Regions from separate parts of the Homo sapiens genome. Here regions 1, 2 and 3 are each linked to region 4. Evidence: promoter capture Hi-C in human tissues and cell types (Jung and others, 2019). All regions are on one chromosome and are shown on one strand. Each heading gives the region's core, a stretch centred on a gene start or on the middle of the fragment in contact. The rest is flanking DNA. Distances are from core to core; before and after follow the strand shown. Region 1 overlaps L3MBTL4 (L3MBTL histone methyl-lysine binding protein 4). Region 2 overlaps L3MBTL4 (L3MBTL histone methyl-lysine binding protein 4). Region 3 has its middle 46 kb from the start of LINC01387. Region 4 holds the start of L3MBTL4 (L3MBTL histone methyl-lysine binding protein 4).

Region 1 (2,700 bases), core at 112-2,611, 64 kb before region 4:
GGTTTTCCAGATGTGTTCACTTCATAAAAAAAATAAATAAAATCCACTACACTGTATTCTTACATTATACATACATTTGTGTATGTCATAGTTTAATAAAAAGCTTACTTAAGTTTGAGTCCACAAATGGCATTGAGAAAACTGGATATTCACATGCAAAATAATGGAGCTGGTCCTTTACCTTACACCATATACAAAAATTAGTTTAAAATGAACAAAAGACCTAAACATAATAGCTGAAACTATAAAACTCCTAGAAGAAAACATAAGTGAAAACCCTCACGGCATTGGATTTGGCAACAACAATGATGTCAAAAACGCAAGCAACCAAAGAATAAGTAAATAAATTTGACTCCATCAAAGCTGAAAACGTTTGTGCATAAGAGAACAATACCAAGAGAGTGGAAGGCAATCCACCGAATGGGAGAAAATATTTGCAAATCATGTATCTCATAAGGGATTAATATCCAGAATATATAAAGAACTCATAATCTCAACAACAAAATACAAATGACTCAGTTGAAAAATGGGCAAAGAACTTGAACAGACATTTCTCCAAAGAGGATATTCTAATAGCCAATAATCATGAAAAAATACAAATCAAAACCACAATGAGATACCACTTTACACATAGGATGGCTAATATAAAAAAGAAAAAAAAAAACGGAAAACAAAAAGTGTTGATAAAGATGTGGAGAAGTGAATACCCTGTGCATTGCAAGTGGGAATGTAAAATGGTACAGCCACTATAGAAAACGGTATGGTGGTTCCTAAAATAATAAAGCATAGAGTTACCATATGACATAGCAATTTCACTTCTAGGTATAAACTGAAAAGAAGTGAAAGCAGGGACCCAAACAGAAATTAGTGCACCAATGTAAATGGCAACATTATTCACAATAGCCAAAGAGTAGAAACAACCTACATGTCCATTATGGATGAATCGATAAAGAAAATGTAGTATAAACATACAATGGAATATTATTCAGCCTTAAAAAATGAAATTCTAGGCCAGGCACAGTGGCTCATGCCTGAAATCCCAGCACTTTGGGAGGCTAAAGCGGACAGATCACCTGAGGTCAGGAGTTCAAGACCAGCCTAGCCAACATGGTGAAACCCCATCTCTCCTAAAAATATTTTTAAAAATTAGCCAAGTGTGGTGGCACGCACCTGTAATCCCAGCTACTCAAGAGGCTGAGGCAGAAGAATCACTTGAACGAGGGAGGCGGAGGTTGCAGTGAGCCAAAATCACGCCACTGCACTCCAGCCTGGGAGATGCAGCGAGACTCCATCTCGAAAAAAGCGCATACTACAACATAAATGAATCTTGAAAACATTATGCTAAGCAAAATAAGCCAGATACTAAAGAACAAATATTGTATTATTCCACTTATATGAGGTACCTAGAATTGTCAAATTCATAAAGACGGAAAGTAGAATGGTAGCTACCAGGGTCTGGGGGAGAAGGCAATGGGGATTGATTGTTTACTGAATACAGAATTGCAGTTTGGGATGACAAAAAAGTTCTGGAGGTGGATGGTAGTGGTGGCTGCACAACAATGTGAATGTGCTTAATGCCACTGAGTGATCACTGAAAATGGTTAAGTAAATTTTGTATTATGTATATTATACCGCAATTTTTAAATGTGGATTTTTTATTTTTTTTTTTGAGATGGAGTCTCGCTCTGTCGCCCAGGCTGGAGTGCAGTGGCGTGATCTCGGCTCACTGCAAGCTCCGCCTCCCGGGTTCACGCCATTCTCCTGCCTCAGCCTCCCGAGTAGCTGGGACCACAGGCGCCTGCCACCACCCCCGGCTAATTTTTTGTATTTTTAGTAGAGACGGGGTTTCACCATGTTAGCCAGGATGGTCTCAATCTCCTGACCTCGTGATCCGCCCGCCTCAGCCTCCCAAAGTGCTGGGATTACAGGCGTGAGCAACCGCGCCCAGCCTAAATGTTGATTTTTTTAAGAGACAGGGTCTCAATATGTTGCCCATGCTGGTCTCAAACTCCTGGCCTCAAGCAATCCTCCTGCCTCAGCCCCACAAAGTGCTGGGATGACAGGCATGAGCCACCACTCAAGTCAAAAGTTGATTTCTTTATAAAAAGTTTATTGTGCTTATATTATTTTCTGGGTATTATACTAATAGCTGCTACTATAAGTGAATTTCCCCCTGCCAAGAAGGAAAGACAGGTGGGTTTAAATTTTTTTGCTTCTCTCCCTTCTCACTGCTAGTAATTACTCAAAATGTGGTCACTCTCAGCATTCTCTGCCAAATCTTTTAAAATCTGGAGCACCTAGCCACTTAAAAGACACAACCAAAGATCCCAACACATCATGATCATTTCACCTCAAAGTAATTACCTCCTCTTCTACAAACCCAATCTCCTCATCTTTATGAGCTGAATCTTTTGGCTGAGTTTAGATCTATAAATTAATGCATTCACTTAGAACAGTCCATTCCACAGAAGGCTCTCAATAAATTATAAATATTTACCTTTAGTCATTCAAAATTTATTGAGAGCCTATTATGATAAAAGGAGATGGTAAATATTCTCATGGTAGCTAAGAAAACTTCCATATCACATGCTCTATCTTCTGATCTAGAGGAAAAATAAAAAGTGGTTGATGAGATTACTATGAACTTTATTGTGACTATTTGTCACTGCCAGGTACTTAACATCTAGATCATTCCCCACA
Region 2 (2,700 bases), core at 20-2,519, 35 kb before region 4:
TCCTCTCTTATTTCCTTGAGCAGTGGTTTGTAGTTCTCCTTGAAGAGATCCTTCACATCCCTTGTAAGTTGTATTCCTAGGTATTTTCTTCTCTTACTAGCAATTGTGAATAAGAGTTCACTCATGATTTGGCTCTGTTTGTCTGTTATTGTTGTATAGGAATGCTTGTGATTTTTGCACATTGATTTTTTATCCTGAGACTTTACTGAAGTTGCTTATCAGCTTAAGGAGATTTTGGGCTGAGATCATGGGGTTTTCTAAATACACAATCATGTTATCTGCAAACAGGGACAATTTGACTTCCTCTTTTCCTATTTGAATAGCCTTTATTTCTTTCTCTTTCCTCATTGCCCTGGCCAGAACTTCCAATACTATGTTGAATAGGAGTGGTGAGATAGGGCATCCTTGTCTTGTGCCAGTTTTCAAAGGAAATGTTCCAGTTTTTGCCCATTCAGTATGATATTGGCTGTGGGTTTGTCATACATAGCTCTTATTATTTTGATATATGTTCCATCGATACCTAGTTTATTGAAAGTTTTTAGCATGAAGGCAAGTTGAATTTTGTCCAAGGCCTTTTCTGCATCTATTGAGATAATCATGTGGTTTTTGTCATTGGTTCTGTTTATGTGATGGATTACATTTATTGATTTGCATATGTTGAACCAGCCTTGCATCCCAGATATGAAGCCGACTTGATCGTGGTGGATAAGCTTTTCGATGTGCTGCAGGATTCGTTTTGCCAGTATTTTATTGAGGATTTTTGCATCAATGTTCATCAGGGATATTGGAATGAAAATTTCTTTTTCTGTTTTGTCTCTGCCAGGTTTTGGTATCGGAATGATGCTGGCCTCATAAAATGAGTTAGGGAGGATTCTCTCTTTTTCTATTGATTGGAATCGTTTCAGAAGGAATGGTACCAGCTCCTCCTTGTACCTCTGGTAGAATTCAGCTGTGAATCCGTCTGGTCCTGGACTTTTTTTGGTTGGTAGGCTATTAATTACTGCCTCAATTTCAGAATTTGTTATTGGTCTCTTTAGGGATTCGACTTCTTCCTGGTTTAGTCTTGGGAGGGTGTATATGTGCAGGAATTTATCCATCTCTTCTAGATTTTCTAGTTTATTTGCGTAGAGGTGTTCATGATATTCTCTGATGGCAGTTTGTATTTCTGTGGGATCAGTGGTGATATTCCCTATATCATTTTTATTGTGTCTATTTGATTCTTCTCTCTTGTCTTCTTTATTAGTCTGGCTAGCAGTCTATCTATTTTGTTGATCTTTTCAAAAAACCAACTCCTGGATTCATTGATTTTTTGAAGGGTTTTTCGTGTCTCTATCTCCTTCAGTTCTGCTCTAATCTTCATTATTTCTTGTCTTCTGCTACCTTTTGAATTTGTTTGCTCTTGCTTCTCTAGTTCTTTTAATTTTGATGTTAGGGTGTCAATTTTAGATCTTTTCTGCTTTCCCTTGTGGGCATTTAGTGCTATACATTTCCCTCTACACACTGCTTTAAATGTGTCCCAGAGATTCTGGTACATTGTGTTGTTGTTCTCATTGGTTTCAAAGAACATCTTTATTTCTGCCTTCATTTCATTATTTACCCAGTAGTCATTCGGGAGCAGGTTGTTCAGTTTCCATGTAGTTGTGCGGTTTTAAGTGAGTTTCTTAATCCTGAGTTCTAATTTGATTGCACTGTGGTCTGAGAGACAGTTTATTATGCTTCCCATTCTTTTGCATTTGCTAAGGAATGTTTTACTTCCAATTATACGGTCAATTTTAGAATAAGTGCGACGAGGTGCTGAGAATAATGTATATTCTGTTGATTTGGGGTGGAGAGTTCTGTAGATGTCTATTAGGTCCACTTGGTCCAGAGCTGAGTTCAAGTCCTGAATATCCTTGTTAATTTTCTGTCTTGTTGATCTGTCTAATATTGACAGTGAGGTGTTAAAGTCTCCCACTATTATTGTGTGGGAGTCTAAGTCTCTTCATAGATCTCTAAGAACTTGCTTTATGCATCTGGGTGCTACTGTATGGGGTGCATATATATTTAGGATACTTAGCTCTTCTTGTTGCATTGATCCCTTTACCATTATGTAATGGCCTTCTTTGTCTCTTTTGATCTTTGTTGGTTTAAAGTCTGTTTTACCAGAGATTAGGATTGCAACTCCTGCTTTTTTTATTTTTAATTTTTTTTCTTTCCATTTGCTTGGTAAATATTACTCCATCCCTTTATTTGGAGCCTATGTGTGTCTTTGCACATGAGATGGGCCTCCTGAATACAGCACACTGATGGGTCTTGACTCTTTATCCAATTTGCCAGCCTGTGTCTTTTAATTGGGGCATTTAGCCCATTTACATTTAAGGTTAATATTCTTATGTGTGAATTTGATTCTTTCACTATGATGCTAGCTGGTTATTTTGCCCATTAGTTGAAGCAGTTTCTTCATAGTGTCAATGGTCTATACAATTTGTTATGTTTTTGCTGTGGTTGGTACCGGTTGTTCCTTTCCATGTTTAGTGCTTCCTTCAGGAGCTCTTGCCAGGCAGGCCTGGTGGTGACAAAATCTCTCAGCATTTGCTTGTCTGTAAAGGATTTTATTTCTCCTGCACTTATGAAGCTTAGTTAGGCTGGATATGAAATTCTGGGTTCAAAATTCTTCTCTTTAAGAATGTTGAATATTGGCCTCCACACTCTTCTGGCTTG
Region 3 (2,700 bases), core at 201-2,700, 51 kb after region 4:
TTGTGTTCCACAGACCTCTTAGTCTTCATTCATTTTTCTTTATTCTTTCTCCTTCTGTACCTCAGGCTGCATAAGTTTCAATTAGCCTATCTTCAAGTTCTCTGATTCTTTATTTCTTCTGCTTATATTTTCCATTGAAACCCTTTAGTGAATTTTATTTCAGTTATTGTACTTTTCTGGCTGCGAATTTCTGTTTAGCTCTTGTTTGTAACTTCTTTCTCCTCATTAATTTTCACTATTTGCTCATGAATAACTCTTCTGTTCTCCTTTAGCTCCTTGAGCATATGTAAGACAGTTGATTTGTCTTTGTCTAGTGAATCCAACATCTGTACTTCTTCATGTAAAATTTCTGCAAATTTCTTCTGTGAAAGGGCCATATTTTCTTGTTCCTTTGCATGCTTCATAATTTTTACAGAAAATTGGCTATTCTGAATATTATAATGTAATAACTCTGGAAATCTTATGCTTCAGCTCTTCAGGGTTTGTTTTTCTGCCGGCTGTGGGATGTAGCTGTTCGTTTGTTTGGTAACTTTTTAATTGTGGTAAAATATACACAAAATAAAATTTATCATATTGATTATTTTATGTTTACAATTCAGTGACATTAAGTACATTCCTAATGTTGTGTAATTATCACTATTATTTTCAAACTTTTTCATAATCTCAAAGAGAAAGTATGTATCCAGTTAACAATAACTCCCCAATCCTCTCTCCAAACAGCCCCTAGTAACCTCTATTCTACCTTCTGTCTCTATGAATTTACATATTCTAGACTCCTCATATAAGTGGAATCATACATGGCATTGTATTTTCAAAGTTCATCCATGTCATAGTATGCATCAGAACCTCATTCCTTTTCATGATTGAATAATATTCCATTATATGTATATACCAGATTTTGTATATTCATTCATTCACCAATAGGCTTTTATTGCTTCCACCTTTTAGGTATTGTAAATAATGCTGCTATGTGGTGTGCAATATCTGTTCAAGTACAGTTTTTAATTCTTTTATGTATTTACCTAGGAGTGGAATTACTGGATTATATGATAATTCCATGATTAACTTATATGTGTTGTGCAATATCTGTTCAAGTCCATGTTTTCAATTTTTAATGTATTTTCATAGAACTGGAATTGCAGATTATATAATAATTCCATCTTTAACTTTTTGAGGAACGAACAGATTGTTTTTCATAGCACTGCACCATATTATATTTCCACCAATAATGCATGAGGCTTCCCATCTCTCTATATGCTGGCTAACATTTGTTATTTCCTATTTTAAAAAAAGTCATCATTATGAGTATGATGTGGTATCTCATGTGGTTTGGATTTACATCATCTTGGTTGGATTTACATCATCTTGATCACTAATGATGTTGAGCATCATTTCATGTGCTTATTGATCATGGATTGGTCTTCTAATCCATGAATATAGGATTTCTTTCCATCCATTTAACTCTTCTTTAATTTCTACCAGCAGTGGTTTTGTTTTGGTTTGGTTTGGTTTGGTTTTTGAGACAGAGTCCTGCTCTGTCACCCAAGATGGAGTTCAGTGGCATGATCTGGGCTCACTGCAACCTCTGCCTTCCAGGTTCAAGTGATTCTCCTGCCTCAGCCTCCGAGTAGCTAGGACTACAGGCACACGCCACTATGCCCAGATAATTTTTGTATTTTTATTAGAGAAGGGTTTTGCCATGTTGGCCAGGCTGGTCTTGAACTCCTGACCTCGGTGATCCGCCTTCCTCAGCCTTCCAAAGTGCTGGAATTGCAGGCATGAGCCACCGTTCCCGGCCAATCAGCAGTGTTTTCAGTGTTTTTAACACACACGTGTGTGTGTGTGTGTTTGCGTTTTGTGTTTTGTGTTTTTTTGGGTTAGTTTTGTTTTGTTTTGTTTTGTTTTTTGAGACAGAGTCTCACTCTGTAGTCCAGGCTGGAGTGCAGTGGCGCGATCTCGGCTCACTGCAAGCTCTGCCTCCCGAGTTCACGTCATTCTCCTGCCTCAGCCTCCCGAGTAGCTGGGACTACAGGCGCCCGCCACCACGCCCTGCTAATTTTTTTGTGTTTTTAGTAGAGACGGGGTTTCACCATGTTAGCCAGGATGGTCTCCATCTCCTGACCTCGCGACCCGCCCGTCTCAGCCTACGAAAGTGCTGAGATTACAGGCATGAGCCACTGCGCCCGGCCCACACAAGAGTTTTTAATGTTTTTATCTGTCTCGTTGGTTAAATTTACCCCCGGGTATTTTATTCTTTTTGATGCTTATTGTAAGTGAAATGGTTTTCTTAATTTCCTTTTAAAATTGTTAATTGCTAGTGTTTAGAAATACAACAGATTTTTGAGTATTGATTCTGTACCCTGTAACTTTGCTGAGTTCATTTAACTCTAATAGTTTTTTGTTTTTTTTTTTTTAACTTCGTATCATCTGTAAAGATAGATATTTTATTTCTTCCTTTCTGACACGGATGCCCCCAACCCATTTTCATTCACTCACCATTGAATTGGCTCACCATTAGCTGTGAGATTTACACATGATATTGATGAAATTCCTTTCGATTCCTAGTTTACTGTTTTTATCATGAGAGGGTGTTACATTTTGTCCAATTTTTTTGTACCTATTTATATTATTATGTTTTTTTTCCTTAACATGCTATGTTGCATTGATTGATTTTATCTTGAACAATTCTTGCATTCTGAG
Region 4 (2,700 bases), core at 183-2,682:
GGAATGCATTCCAAGTTTTTAATATTACCAAGGGCCAAAAACAACTCTACTGTACCCACCACCTGTTTGTCACCTTAACCTTTTTAGGTGGAATAGATTAGAAAACCGAAGAGCCACACTACACTTATTTCAGCCAAGGACTGAAACTGGAGCCTGCCACAAGCATCTTCTAGAACAGCTCCAACAGAAGGATCCAGGAGATGGGCCACCAGCAAGTCATAGTGGAGTCCAAACAAGTGTGAAGTGAGAGCGAGTCTTCAGCATGGGAATGGCCGAGTGGGTCGTGGTGACCAGCTGCCTTCCTCTGACTGTTAAGTACAGCAGTCTCAACAGTAACAATGACCAGGCCTTCCCTTTATTTAGTTCCACCTCGGGGCATTGGCGCATTAAGAATGTCCCTCTAAAGGCATATGTAAGATAAAGCACACTTCGCACTTTAACCAGTGACTAAGGGAGATCAAAAGCAGGGGACAATACCCACCCGGAATTTGCGACCTCGCGAAAACGCTCTCACCAATCCCGCAGGTAAGTGCGGCGCTGGCCCAGGTGTGCCCAGCTCGACTCGCGTCCACCTGGGACCAAGCGGGCCCAAGAAGGCCCGGAGAGCAGGCGAGGGCGACTGTGGCCGGCGCGCCCCCCGCAGTTCCAGGCGGTGGCAGGAGCCTGAGAGCCGCCGTCCCAGGCTGGCCAGGCGCCCGCCCGCCCTGCGCGCACTCCCTGGGCTCCCGCTCCCGAGGCTGGGCAGAACTCGCAGAGGAAGACAAGGGCAGAAAGCGGGTGGAGGGAGGCAGCGCTCGCCCGTCCGGGCACACGACACTTGTCGGCTGAGGGGGACACGCGGGCAGACGGGGGCGTTAGCCCCAGAGGAAACAAAAGCCAAATGCCCACCGCCGGGCGCTCGATGGCCGGAGGACTGCCTGGGGGCCCTCAGGAGTCCCGTCCCGTCCCGCTCCCCCGGTCCCAGGCTGCGCTGGCTCCAGGGCGCCCAGGTAGCCGCGCCTGGCACCCCGACCCTGCCCTCGCGGCTGACCGAGGCGCCGGGCTCTGCGGCGGCCGCGCCCGTCCAAAGTAGGCGACAAGTGAGGCAGCGCCTCTCGCGGGGAGCCCGGCGCGCGCCCCGGCGGCGAAAGAGAAAGAGAAAGAGCCTGGGCCGGGACCGGGGCTATCCCCAACCGCCACCGCCCCCACCGGCCCGGCCCTCGCCGCGGGAGTCGTGCAGGCCCCTCTACCTGCCCGGGGATGGGGCCACCCCGCGCGGCGGCGGCCGTGGGCACCCACGCGGGCTCGCGACCATCCCACGCGGGCGGCGGCGTCCTTCTTACCCCCAGCGGAGCGGCGCCTGCCCGCAACGCCGACCGAGCTACAGGCGGGGGGCGAGTCGGAGCGCGAGGTTCCGCCAGCCCAGGCTGCGGCGCCGCTGCCCCGCGGTGCCCGGCGGGAGGGGCGCGAGGGTGCACGCGCGGGGTGGGGGCGCGGGAGCCGCCCCCTGCCCGCCCCGCGCGCATGCTCCCGCCGCACCTGCCTCGCTCAGTGTTCCACACCCCGGGGAGCCGGGTGGCGCTGGGCCCGCCGAGGTCGGGGCTTTCCCATGGGAGGGAGGTGGCTGCGGCGGAATTTTCAGATGCGTCCTTCTCTGTATTCGTTCCCTGGGAAGGATTCCCCCAAATCTTGGCTACTTCCTGCCTGCCAGCTTGCTCCCTGGCAGCGAAGTCCCAGTAGCTCACCCATGCTTCATCCCAGCTCTTGGGGTTCACCGTCTGAAGGCTCTCTCCTCCGGATCCCTCTCGGTCCTGCTGCTCGCTCCGATTTTGCAACCTCCCCCACTCCCCTTTCCTGCTCTTGACTTTGCTACTCACGAGTACCTGGATACCATTTCCAAATAAAAGAATACTCTTTCCAAGTGGCAAGCAGTGTTTACTGACCCTGTTCTAACTGCTTGGAATTGAGCAGGAAACAGGAGCTGGGTAGATCCTGCCCTCATGGAACTTATGGCCTTACTGGCTAGCTTTGGCCTTTCTCAAAGCATTGTCTCCCAGTTTGGGAGGACTGTATTAAATCATTTATTTTGGCTTACAAATAAAGGTAGCTGATAATTGAAGACTATATGTTGTGACTTTTGAATGAAATGTTCTTTCATAGGACGCCTTGTGTATAAACCCTAGTATGCAAATAATAAATAGTAGGTACTAAATAAGTATTAGTTTGTTGCTTTCAGCAGGAAATTGAATCATTTAGCAGGATTAACAATGATACCATCCAAAATGATCTTTTTGGTTTGTCGTGGGCTACCATAAACAGAGAATGAAAACTTGCTTTTTAGGTGAGACTGGGCATTGTTGAAACATAATTTCGTGTCCTTACTGAAAAGAGAAATATAAACCCCTTTGCTAATGAAGTTTTTAAACTAGGAACAATGATCATAGAAATTTGTAAGTGCAAACACACGATTTGTGTTCTGTGCTCTAGTCAGTTAAGAAAAATATATTAGCCAGGTATGGCGGCTCACATCTGTAATCCCAGCACTTTGGGAGGCCGAAGAGGGCGGATCACTTGAGGTCAGGAGTTCGAGACCAGCCTGGCCAACATGGTGAAACCCTGTCTCTACTAAAAATACGAAATTAGCTGGGTGTGGTGGCGGGCGCCTGTAATCTCAACTACTCGGGAGGCTGAGACACTAGAATCGCTTGAACCTGGGAGGCA

The links. Contacts are between HindIII fragments. The study calls those that stand out against the background at their distance.
Region 1: a fragment that was not itself captured here is called in contact with the fragment with the promoter of L3MBTL4 in region 4 in 1 of the 25 tissues and cell types used here (mesenchymal stem cells).
Region 2: a fragment that was not itself captured here is called in contact with the fragment with the promoter of L3MBTL4 in region 4 in 1 of the 25 tissues and cell types used here (bladder).
Region 3: a fragment that was not itself captured here is called in contact with the fragment with the promoter of L3MBTL4 in region 4 in 1 of the 25 tissues and cell types used here (bladder).

Annotation. Positions count from the first base shown.
Region 1 is chr18:6,349,901-6,352,600 of GRCh38, forward strand. All of the region lies in intron 1 of L3MBTL4 (L3MBTL histone methyl-lysine binding protein 4), which reads right to left. Among named protein-coding and RNA genes, the nearest start is that of MIR4317, 23 kb to the right of the region's middle. The HindIII fragment of the contact is 5,033 bases long and covers 1-2,700 here.
Region 2 is chr18:6,378,979-6,381,678 of GRCh38, forward strand. All of the region lies in intron 1 of L3MBTL4 (L3MBTL histone methyl-lysine binding protein 4), which reads right to left. Among named protein-coding and RNA genes, the nearest start is that of MIR4317, 5.9 kb to the left of the region's middle. The HindIII fragment of the contact is 3,782 bases long and covers 1-2,700 here.
Region 3 is chr18:6,464,402-6,467,101 of GRCh38, forward strand. No RefSeq gene overlaps it. Among named protein-coding and RNA genes, the nearest start is that of LINC01387, 46 kb to the right of the region's middle. The HindIII fragment of the contact is 4,008 bases long and covers 1-2,700 here.
Region 4 is chr18:6,413,479-6,416,178 of GRCh38, forward strand. L3MBTL4 (L3MBTL histone methyl-lysine binding protein 4) reads right to left here and starts at 1,433. Exons shown (of 19, transcript NM_001330559.2): 1 at 1,323-1,433. RefSeq lists a silencer at 936-1,475. The HindIII fragment of the contact is 7,728 bases long and covers 1-2,700 here.